Linked DNA regions of Homo sapiens: all the other regions are linked to region 3. Evidence: promoter capture Hi-C in 16 types of primary human blood cells and fetal thymus (Javierre and others, 2016). All regions are on one chromosome and are shown on one strand. The core of a region is centred on a gene start or on the middle of the fragment in contact, and the rest is flanking DNA. Distances in the headings are between cores, read along the strand shown. Region 1 has its middle 26 kb from the start of ACHE. Region 2 has its middle 12 kb from the start of MUC3A. Region 3 holds the start of MUC17 (mucin 17, cell surface associated).

Evidence for each region. The method cuts DNA at HindIII sites, captures the fragments that hold promoters and counts their contacts. A CHiCAGO score of 5 or more calls a contact.
Region 1: a fragment that was not itself captured here is called in contact with the fragment with the promoter of MUC17 in region 3 in 1 of 17 cell types (endothelial precursors); the score reaches 5.2 in endothelial precursors.
Region 2: a fragment that was not itself captured here is called in contact with the fragment with the promoter of MUC17 in region 3 in 1 of 17 cell types (naive B cells); the score reaches 5.1 in naive B cells.

What each region holds. Positions count from the first base shown.
Region 1 is chr7:100,919,600-100,923,391 of GRCh38, forward strand. No RefSeq gene overlaps it. Among named protein-coding and RNA genes, the nearest start is that of ACHE, 26 kb to the left of the region's middle. The HindIII fragment of the contact is 1,909 bases long and covers 1,106-3,014 here.
Region 2 is chr7:100,935,848-100,939,785 of GRCh38, forward strand. No RefSeq gene overlaps it. Among named protein-coding and RNA genes, the nearest start is that of MUC3A, 12 kb to the right of the region's middle. The HindIII fragment of the contact is 5,286 bases long and covers 1-3,938 here.
Region 3 is chr7:101,018,238-101,021,706 of GRCh38, forward strand. MUC17 (mucin 17, cell surface associated) reads left to right here and starts at 1,844. Exons shown (of 13, transcript NM_001040105.2): 1 at 1,844-1,980. The coding sequence starts at 1,899. MUC12 (mucin 12, cell surface associated) reads left to right here. Exons shown (of 12, transcript NM_001164462.2): 12 at 358-699. The coding sequence ends at 399. RefSeq lists a silencer at 251-545 and an enhancer at 595-744. The HindIII fragment of the contact is 6,139 bases long and covers 1,740-3,469 here.

The DNA.
Region 1 (3,792 bases), core at 810-3,309, 98 kb before region 3:
CGGCTTCTTTACTGAAACTAAGGGAGGAGACCACCCTTCATATTGTCTTATGCCCAATTTCTGCCTCCAAAGAAAGAAGAAGTAAAAACTAAAAGGCAGAAATGAAATCCACATTTCATTTCTAAAAGACAGCCCAGTGCCACACACTGGGCCTGGTTGTTAAAGATTGACCCCTGACCTAATTGGTTATGTTATCTATAGATTACAGCTATTGTATAGAAAAGCACTGTGAAAATCCCTGTCCTGTTCCATTCTAATTACCGGTGCATGCAGCCCCCAGTCACGTACCCTCTGCTTGCTCAATCAATCACGACCCTCTCATGCAGACCCGCTTAGAATTGTGAGCTCTTAAAAGGGACAGGAATTGCTGACTCAGAGAGCTCGGTTGTTGGAGACGTGAGTCTTGCTGAAGCTCCTGGCTGAATAAAGCCCTTTCTTCTTTAACTCAGTGTCTGAGGGGTTGTGTCTGCGGCTTGTCCTGCTACAAAACCTGTTTCATCAGCAAGGTCTTTATGACCTGTATCTTGTGCCGACCTTCTATTTCATCCTGTGACTTAGAATGCCTTAACCATCTGAGAATGCACCCAGTAGGTCTCAGCCTCATTTTACCCAGTTCCTATTCAAGATGGAGTTGCTCTGGTTCACCTGCCTCTGACAGAGGCATGGTATTCCATTTCTTCAGGGCTAGTCTCTGTCTCAGGCAAGTTTTTTGCTCCTGGGTCTTGGGGATGGAATTTCTCAGCATATCTGTCCTTCCTCGTGGCAGCCAAACTTTTCCTTTTGTCTTTGGGTTGGTGGGGGTTTTGGCAGGACAGAATTTCTCATCCCTACTCCCATGGTGGCTGACCTCTCTGTATCTGTGCAGGCTTCTGAGTGCAAGCAGCTGTCCTCCCCTCCACCAGGGCACTCAGCTTTGCCTCTAGTTCTTCTTCAGCAGCAGCTAGCTTGGAAAGGAGAGCAGGAGGATGTGTAACCACCTGAGAGGTTCTTCTTGCCTGCTGCGTAAAGAAACACCATGGCATTGTAGTAGAGAAAGAGTTTAATAGACACAAGGCTCGCCATGCCACATGGGAGATGGAGTTAGCATTCAAATCATCTTGTCCAAAGCTTGTATGTTAGGGGTGTCATGGGAAAACGACAGCTGGTGGTGTGGGGTAAAAGAATTTGTGAAGACAGTTGTAAGTAAAGGAAGCCAAATTTATTAGACAAAGTAGGAAAATACACTGCCAGAGAGATAACGGGCTACCAGCAGAAGAGAAACTGACTGCAAAAAACAAAGACTCGCTGGAGATTTTATAGGGTAGTGTTTATGCTCTCTGTTGAAGAGGGCTTTATGTAGTACTGATAACATCAAAGTTGCAGTGAGCTAACTTACAGGTGTCTGGTGATAGCTGGGTGCAGGAAAGGTTGTAAGTTACTTGTGCAGGAGGGCTGTGTGTCCTGGATCATGAAGAAAGACAGACTTGTTGCTTATCTGCTTTCTCTTTTTGCTTTCTCTTGGTTCCACCAGCCTGGTTCCCTTTCCCTAATTAGGACTCCACAAAGGGATGAGGGTGGCCAGGTAATAGGTGCTTGCTGCTGATTGGTTGGGGTGGAGATGAAATTCTGCCTCCTGCAGGCAGAATTGCTTCTGGGCAGGGCCACAGGGGTGGGTTTGGTGGGGGATTCAGGTGGGTTCAGGTGGAGCCATGGATGTCTGACATGCAAAAATCCTGAAAAGACATCTCAAAAGGCCAATCTTAGGACTCAAGCTCCTCTCCTCCAAGCCTGATGGTCTCCCATTGGCTTTACAAAAGGCTTTGGGGAGGAGAGGAGTTTCAGGGCAAGGCCTGTTATCATTTAAATGATAACCTAAAATGTCTTCCAAAGTTAGCTTGGCCCAATAGCCCCCAAATAATCAAGGGAAAGGCAAGGTGGTGCAGGTGGAGGGTGTTAACTCTGCTTACTATTATAATTTTTCTCAGTGATAAAATTTTCACAAAGGCAGTTTTAGGTAGACTACTGATCACTGTCAACTGATGTGTTGACAAAAAGAGTTAAACTCTAAAATATTTAAAGAGATTTATGCTGAGCCAAATATGAGTGACCAAGGCCCATGACATAGCCCCTAAAAGTCCTAAGAACAGGTGCCCAAGGTGGTTGGTTTACAGCTTTTATACATTTTATTTTATTTTATTTTAGGCAGAGTCTCACTCTGTTGCCCAGGCTGGGGTGCAGTGGCACTCACTGCAACCTCTGCCTCTCAGGCTCAAGCAATTTTTGTGCCTCAGCCACCCAAGTAGCTGGGATTACAGGTGTGCATTACCATGTCTGGCTAATTTTTGTATTTTTATTGGAGATGAAATTTCACTATGTTGGCTAGGCTGGTCTCGAACTCCTGGCTTCAACTGATCCTCCTGCCTTGGCCTCCCAAAGCGCTGGGATTACAGGCATGAGCCAGCACCCCTGGCCAATTTTTTTTTTTGAGAGGGAGTCTTTCTCTGTTGCCCAGGCTGGAGTGCAGTGGCACAATCTCAGCTCACTGTAACCTCTGCCTCCTGGGCTCAAGTGATCTCCTGCCTCAGCCTCCTGAGTAGCTGGGATTACAGGTGCCCACCACTATACCCGTTAATTTTTGTATTCTTAGTAGAGATGAGGTTGCACCATGTTGGCCAGGCTGGTTTCAAACTCCTGACTGTCAGGCCTCTGAGCCAAAGCTAAGCCATCATATCCCCTGTGACCTGCACGTATACATCCAGATGGCCTGAAGTAACTGAAGAATGACAAAAGAAGTGAAAATGGCCTTTTCCTGCCTTAACTGATGACATTACCTTCTGAAATTCCTTTTCCTGGCTCATCCTGGCTCAAAAGCTCCCCCACTGAGCACCTTGTGATCCCCACCCCTGCCCACCAGAGAACCCCCCTTTGACTGTAATTTTCCTTTACCTACCCAAATCTTAAAAAATGGCCCCACCCCATCTCCCTTCGTTGACTCTCTTTTCGGACTCAGCCTGCCTGTACCCAGGTGGTTAAAAAGCTTTATTGCTCACACAAAGCCTGTTTGGTGGTCTCTTCACACGGACGTGAGTGAAATTTGGTACCGTGACTCAGATCGGGGGACCTCCCTTGGGAGATCAATCCCCTGTCCTCCTGCTCTTTGCTCCATGAGAAAGATCCACCTACGACCTTGGGTCCTCAGATTGACCACCCAAGGAACATCTCACCAATTTTAAATCGGGTAAGTGGCCTTTTTTCACTCCCTTCTCCAACCTCTCTTAGTATCCCTCAACCTCTTTCTCCTTTCAATCTTGGTGCCACACTTCAGTCTCTCCCTTCTCTTAATTTCAGTTCCTTTCCTTTTCCGGTAGACACAAAGGAGATGCATTTTATCCATGAACCCAAAACTCCGGCACTGGTCACAGACTCAGGAAGAGAGTCTCCCTTGGTGTTTAATCACACGGGGATGCCTGCCTGATTATTCACCCACATTTCAGAGGTGTCTGACCATGTGGGGATGCCTGCCTTGGTCCTTCACCCTTAGTGGAAAGTACCGCTTTTCTGGGGGGCAAGAACCCCCTGACCCCTTCTCTCTGTGTCTCTACCCCTTTTCTGCTTTTCTAGGGGGCAAGAATCCCCCAACCCCTTCTCTCCGTGTCTCCACCTCTTCTCCACTTTTCTGAGGGGCAAGAACCCCCTGAACCCTTCTCTCCATGTCTCTACCCCTTCTCCACTTTCCTAGGGGGCAAGCACCCCTGACGCCTTCTCTCTATGTCTCTACTCTCTCTTTTCTCTGGGCTTGCCTCCTTCACTATG
Region 2 (3,938 bases), core at 838-3,337, 82 kb before region 3:
TCTAGCCTGGGTGACAGAGTGACACTCCATCTCAAATAACAATAATAATAATAATAGAAATAAAGTGCACAATGAATGTAATGTGCTTGAACCATCCCAAACCCGTCCCCCTCGACCCTCCTGGTCCATGGAACAATTGTCTTCCATGAAACCAGTCCTTGGTGCCAAAAAGTTTGGGGACTGCTGGTCTGGACAACCTGGGCTTCACAATTTTTAATTTGTTTGTAGGCTGTTACTGTAACAGGCCGAGAGGTGCTTGTAAACTTCAGAGGTTGTTTACCAGAGAGCCAAAGAAGGTGTTTAGAAATGTGTGTGACATGCTATAACCCAGCTCCGGCCATAGACCCTGTTCCGATGAAGACAATGTTCTATCTCTAATGATCCAATATGGCAGACAGCAGCCATATGTGGCATTGTACTCTTAAAATATGGATAATGCAACTGAAGAACTAATTTTCTTTTTCTCTTTCTTCTTTCTTTCTTTCTTTCTTTTTTTCTGTTCTTTCTCTCTTTCTTTCTCTCTCTCTTTCTCTCTTTCTCTCTTTTTTTCTTTCTTTCAAGACAGGGTCTCACTCTGTCACCCAGGCTAAAGTGCAGTGGCACGATCCGGGCTTACTGCAACCTCCACCTCCCGGGTTCAAGTGATTCTCCTGCCTCAGCCTCCCGAGCAGCTGGGATTACAGGCGCCTGCCACCACACCAGGCTAATTTTTGTATTTTTAGCAGAGACAGGGTTTCACCACAGTGGCCAGGCTGGTCTCGAACTCCTGACCTCCGCCCGCCTCGGCCTCCCAAAGTGCTGGGATTACAGGCGTGAGCCACCACGCCTGGCCAGCCAACTTCTATTAATATTTTAGAAAAAGGGGATGCAAGTGCAGGTTTGTTACAAAGGTATATGATGTGATGCTGAGTTTTGGGGTATGAATGAATATGTCACCAAGGTAGTGAGCATAGTATCCAGTAGATCATTTTTTCAGCCCTTGCCCTGCTCCTTCTCTTCTACCTCTAATAGTCCCTGTGTCTATTGTTTTTATTTTTATGTCCATGTGCACCCAATATTTAGCTCCCACTTATAAGTGAGAATAAGCGTTATTTGGTTTTTTGTTTCTGCGTTAGTTAGCTCAGACTAGTGGTTTCCAGCTGTATCCCCGTTGCTGCAATGGACATGATTTTGTTCTTTTTTATGGCTGTGTAGTAATCCATGGTGTATGTATACTGTATTTTTCACCATAGATGGGCATCTAGGTTGATTCCATGTCTTTTCTATTGTGAATACTGTTGTGCCATGGGTGCAGGTGTCCTTTTGGTAGAACAATTTATTTTTTGGGGGGATAGTTACCCAGTAGTGGGGTTGCTGGGTTGGTTGGTACTTCGACTCATAGTTCTTTGAGAAATATCCGAACTGCTCTTCGTAATGGCTGAACAATTTACATTCTGACCAACAGTGAATGAGTGTTCCCTTTTCTCCACAGCCTTGCTGCCATCTGTTTTTTTTTTTTTAAATATATGAGGAAAGTCTTGCTCTGCCACCCAGGCTGGAGTGGAGTGGCATGATCATGGCTCACTGCAGTCTCAGACTCCTGGGCTCAAGCAATCCTCCTGCCTCAGCTTCCTTAGTAGCTGTGACTATAGGCACACACTACACCAACACACACAGATAATTTAAAATTTTTTTTTTTTTGGTAGAGATGAGGTCTCACTATGTTGCCCAGGCCGGTCTCCAACTTCTGACCTCAAGGGATCCTCTAGCCTCTGCCTCCCAAAGTGCTGAGATTTCAGGCATGAGCCACTATACCTGGTCTTTTTTTTTGACTTTTTTTTTTTTTTTTTTTTTTGAGGTGGAGTCGCACTCTGTCGCCCAGGCTGGAGTGCAGTGGGGCCATCTCAGCTCACTGCAACCTCTGCTTCCCGGGTTCAAGTGATTCTCCTGACTCAGCCTTCCGGGTAGCCAGGATTACAGGTGTGTGCCACCATGCCCGACTAATTTTTTTGTGTTTTTAGTAGAGACGGGGGCCAGGCTGGTCTCAAACTCCTGACCTCGAGTGATCTGCCAGCGTCAGCCTCCCAAAGTGCTGGGATTATGGGTGTCAGCCACCATGCCCGACCTTTCTTGACTTTTTAACAAAAGCCCTGATAAATGTAGTTATACCCTGACTTTGCCTCACTATAGGCCCCTGTGCCCACAAACTTCCTATGGTCACTTTCCTAATATCTAAGTGTAAAATTGAGATTAATATCCTCACCACCCTGCAGAATTCCCACACTGACTTCCTAACCTATAGAATAAGAAATGTTAGGATGAGACCAGTGGATGGCTCTTGTCAAAATAGTAAACCAAAAGCAATTCTGCACTGCTGCATTTAATCACAGTGATTTTTTTTTTTTAAAACAGTGTCTCACTATGTTGCCCAGGCTGGTCTTGAACTCCTGGGCTCAAGTGATCCTCCCGTCTCCCAAAGTGTTAGGATTACAAGTGTGAGCCACTGTGCCCAGCTGAAAGATTCGTCTTGACATAACAAAGAATCGCCCTCCAAAACCTATTAATGATTGGCCGGGTATGGTGGCTCACACCTGTAATCCCAGCACTTTTGGAGGCCGAGGTGGGCAGATCACCAGGTCAGGAGATCGAGACCATCCTGGACAACATGGTGAAACCCCATCTCTACTAAAAATACCAAAATTAGCTGGGTGTGGTGGCATGTACCTGTAATCCCAGCTACTTGGGAGGCTGAGGAAGGAGAATCACTTGAATCTGGGAGGCAGAGGTTGCAGTGAGGTGAGATTGTGCCACTGCACTGCAGGCTGGTGACAGAGCGAGACTCCGTTTCAAAATAAACAAATAAACATATAAAAAAAACCTATTAATGACCTTAGCTTTATAGATGTACTTAGTGCCATGGTCTGAATGTTTGTGGCTCCCCGAAATCCATATATGTTGCCATCTTAACCCCCAAGGTGATGATATCAGGAGGTGGGGCCTTTAGGAGGTGTTTTAGTCTGTTCTCACATTGTTATAAAGAAATAACTGACACTTCGGGAGTCCGAGGTGGGTGAATCACTTGAGGCCAGAAGTTCGAGACCAGCCTGGCAAACATGGTGAAACCCCTCTCTACTAAAAAATGCAAAAATTAGCTGGCAGTGGTGACACACACCTGTAATCCCAGCTACTCGGGAGGCTGAGGCAGGAGAATCACTTGAACCCGGGAGGTGGAGGTTGCAGTGAGCCAAGATCGCACCACTGCACTCCAGCCTGGATGACAGAGCAAGACTCTGTCTCAAAAAAAAAAAAAAAAAAAAAGAAGGAACTGAGACTGGGTCATATATATGTTTAATTGGCTTAGGGTTCTGCAGGCCATGCAGGAAGCATGGCTGGGGAGGCCTCAGGGAGCTTTTACTCATGGCAGAAGGCAAAGCCTGAGCAGGTGTCTTCACACAGCCAGAGCAGGAGGAAGAGAGAGAGTGGGGAGGTGCCACACACTTTTAAACAACCAGAGCTCATGAAAACTCTACCACAAGAATAGCACCAAGGGGATGGTGTTAAACCATTTATGAAGGATTCACCTCCATGATCCAATCACCTCTCACCAGGCCCCACCTCCAGCACTGGGGATTACATTTTAACATGAGATTTGGGTGGGGACACAGACCCAAACCATATCAGGAGGTGATTAGGCCATGGTGGTGGAGCCCTCATGAATGGGATTAGTGCCCTTATGAAAGAGACCCAGAGGCCAGATAAGGTCATACCCATAATCCCAGCACTTCGGGAGGCTGAGGTAGGTGGATCACTTGAGGTCAGGAGTTCGAGACCAGCCTGGCCAACATGGTGAAATACATCTCTACTAAAAGTACAAAAACTAGCAGGGCATGGTGGCACATGACTGTAGTCCCAGCTACTTGGGAGGCTGAGGCAGGAGAATCATTGATCCTGGGAGGAAG
Region 3 (3,469 bases), core at 594-3,093:
TCCCTTCCCCCGGGACTCCCTCCTCCCCCAGGACTCCCTCCTCTCCTTAGGACTCCCTCCCTCTCCCTGGGACACTCTCCCTACCCCTGGGACTCCCTTCTCCCCCTAGGACTCCCTCCCTTCTCCTGGGACTCCCTCCTCCCCCAGGACTCCCTCCTCACCCTGGGGCCACCCCTTCCCCTGGGACTCCCCCCTCCCCCGCCACTCCCTCCTCTCCCTAGGACTCCCTCCCTCCCCCTGGGACTCCCTCCCTCCCCCTGGGGTTCCCTCCTCCCCGCCAGGGCTCCCTCTTCCTCCTGGGGCTCCCCCTTTCCCGGGTCTGCCCCTTGGCCTCACCTCTTCTCTCCCGTCCCCCAGCTCCACATCCAGAGGCCGGAGATGGTAGCATCCACTGTGTGAGCCAACGGGGGCCTCCCACCCTCATCTAGCTCTGTTCAGGAGAGCTGCAAACACAGAGCCCACCACAAGCCTCCGGGGCGGGTCAAGAGGAGACCGAAGTCAGGCCCTGAAGCCGGTCCTGCTCTGAGCTGACAGACTTGGCCAGTCCCCTGCCTGTGCTCCTGCTGGGGAAGGCTGGGGGCTGTAAGCCTCTCCATCCGGGAGCTTCCAGACTCCCAGAAGCCTCGGCACCCCTGTCTCCTCCTGGGTGGCTCCCCACTCTGGAATTTCCCTACCAATAAAAGCAAATCTGAAAGCTCAGAATGAGAAGTGAGAGGTTTCCTTCTCCTCCTTCTGCAGTTGGGGTCAGGTTAGGGGTCAGAGCCCTCCTGGGATGGGATTTCTCCCAGGACTGGCTGCTGAATGGGGCATGGAACGAATGCTCTGGGCCCCTTCCTGTGTCTTTGCAGGGAGCCCCCTCCCCGGCTCCAGTCAGGACAGGTCTAGGCCTGCCTCTGCTGAGGTCCCTGTGGCAGAAAAGCCTAATGTCAGGTTCTGGGGACAGGAGAGGACCTCAGATTCAACCCCAGTTGGCCAGGGAGTGAGCACTTGGCTCTGCTGAGCTTGCACAAGGCAGGGTCACTCCAGATGGCCATGGGAGCTGTGCTTACCTCGGAACCCACAGACCAAACCCAAGAACTCCCTGCCCAGGCATGGCCATGTCTTCAGGGCATACTCATAGGACAATAAGAAGGGTTATTTTATTTATTTATTTTTGCCGAGACAGAGTCTTGCTCTGTTGCCCAGGCTGGAGTACGGAGGCACGATCTTGGCTCTCTGCAACCTCCGCCTCCCAGGTTCAAGCGATTCTCCTGCCTCAGCCTCCTGAGTAGCTGGGATTACAGGCGCCCGCCACCAAGTCTGGCTGATTTTTGTATTTTTAGTAGAGATGGTGTTTCATCATGTTGGCCAGGTTGGTCTCAAACTCCTCATCTCAAGTGATCTTCCCGCGTCAGCCTCCCAAAGTGCTGGGATTACAGGTGTGAGCCACCATACCCGGCCAATAAGAAGGGTTAGAAAAGAGACAAAGGGGGTGTCCCTGCTAGGGGTTAGGGTCAAATGCAGGTGGTACCCTCCTCCTTTCCCAGCTCAGGCCCAGTCCCTCTTGCCCATCTCCCACCACCCTCGGTCGGGGGATCTCATCAGTTCCCCCCTGGCTCCTACAGGCCCTCTGGGCTGCCCCTCTGTTGGGGTGATAAAGCTGATAACCCTCATGCCTATGGGCTGCCGGGCCAGGGAGAGGCACCCCCTCCCTCTGCCCTTTGGCCTGAAACAGGCCCTGCGCCCCAAGTCATGAGGGAAGCTTCCAGACTGACTCAGGCTCAGGCTGGCCCCTGATCCCCAGTGTCTCAGGGACCAAAGGTCTCTGGCACCCATTTATTTATCAGTTTCCTTCTCTGAGGCTCATTTCGCCAGCTCCTCTGGGGGTGACAGGCAAGTGAGACGTGCTCAGAGCTCCGATGCCAAGGCCAGGGACCATGGCGCTGTGTCTGCTGACCTTGGTCCTCTCGCTCTTGCCCCCACAAGCTGCTGCAGAACAGGGTGAGTGACCCCCACGCCCCGCTGCCCAAGAGGCCCCCATCCCAGGGGCCAGCCTGCTCTGTCTGCCCATCCCCGAGGGAGAGCTGCCTCCAGGACACCAATAGGGGTGTGCCCTCTGCCTGGAGCTCAGCCCTGTGCCTACCCCCTGGACTTCTCTTCTCTCCCCAGCGAGCTTTGGGGGAAGAGCCAGGGCATTGGAGCCTCTTCCAGTTGAGGTCTCTGAGCCTTAGTTTCCCCTTCCGAGCCTCAGTCTCCCCTCCGGAAAGTAAGAATAATAACACCTGCTTTTCAGGGCAGCTGCTAGGATTGAAAAGAGCTCCCCCCCCGAGGCATGATCCCTGGCACAAGACTGGTGTTCAACCCATATTAGAGTCTATCCTTACCCAGTGAATGTTCCCGCCAAGTCCCTGTCACCTCCCACACCAGCACACCCTGCTGTGTGCCCCAGGAATGTTTCCGGGACATAGCCACATGGGCACAAAATGGCGTTTCAGGAGCCCCAGATTCTAATCCTGCCATGAACCAGCTGTGCACCCTGGGGCCGCTCAGTTCATCTCCTGCCTCAGTCTCCCCAAAAGACAAGGCATTAGGACCTCTGAGGATCATTCCAGCTCAGCCGCTTTGGGCTTCATGGCCACAGGGACCCCGGGGGGCTCAGAGCAGGAGGGATGACAGTGGGTTCCAGCTGGACTCTCTGGGAGCTCCCTCTGCCCCTCACCTGCCCCCAGAGAAGGGCGCAGGGGAACCAAGACAGAAACTGGACCCATAGACCTCAGGGTCCCTGCCCCTCGAGATGTCACCCTGTGGCAATCTCACCCAGATCTGCCAGCCCATTCGTTGTAATGAAAACACTCCTTTCCTTGCACTTTCTGTGCCTTCCAGACCCTTGGTGATGTATCTCTAATAACAGCATCTTAGACATGATCTTTTGTTTTCCTCCCCAACCCTCACCTCTGTCTCCTCCTTTTTTTTTTTTTTTTTTTTTTGAGACGGAGCCTCGCTCTGTCACCCAGGCTGGAGTTCTGTAGCGTGATGTCAGCCCACTGCAACCTCTGCCTCCCGGGTTCAAGCGATTCTCCCGCCTCAGGCTCTTGAGTAGCTGGGATTACAGCCACATGCCACCATGCCCAGCTAGATTTTGTATATTTTTAGTAAGGACAGGGTTTCACCATGTTAACCGGGCTGGTCTCAAACTCCTGATCTCAGGTAGTCCTCCCACCTTGGGCTCCCAAAGTGCTGGGATTACAGGGGTGAGCCACCGCTCCTGGCCCCCTCCTTTCTTTCTCTCTGCTCCTCCCTTCCCTCTTCCTGGGTTCTTCTAGCCCCTTCCTTCCCCCTCTCTTCTCTTTCTTCTTCTCCCCACCTCTCCTTGGCCCCTTCCTGGCCTCTCCCCACTTTCTGCGTGTTATCATTGATTTCATCCCTAGCCTCAGTCTGCCTTTGTAGAATGTGACTTCTCAGACCCTGTTCCTACTCTCCAGGATTCTGT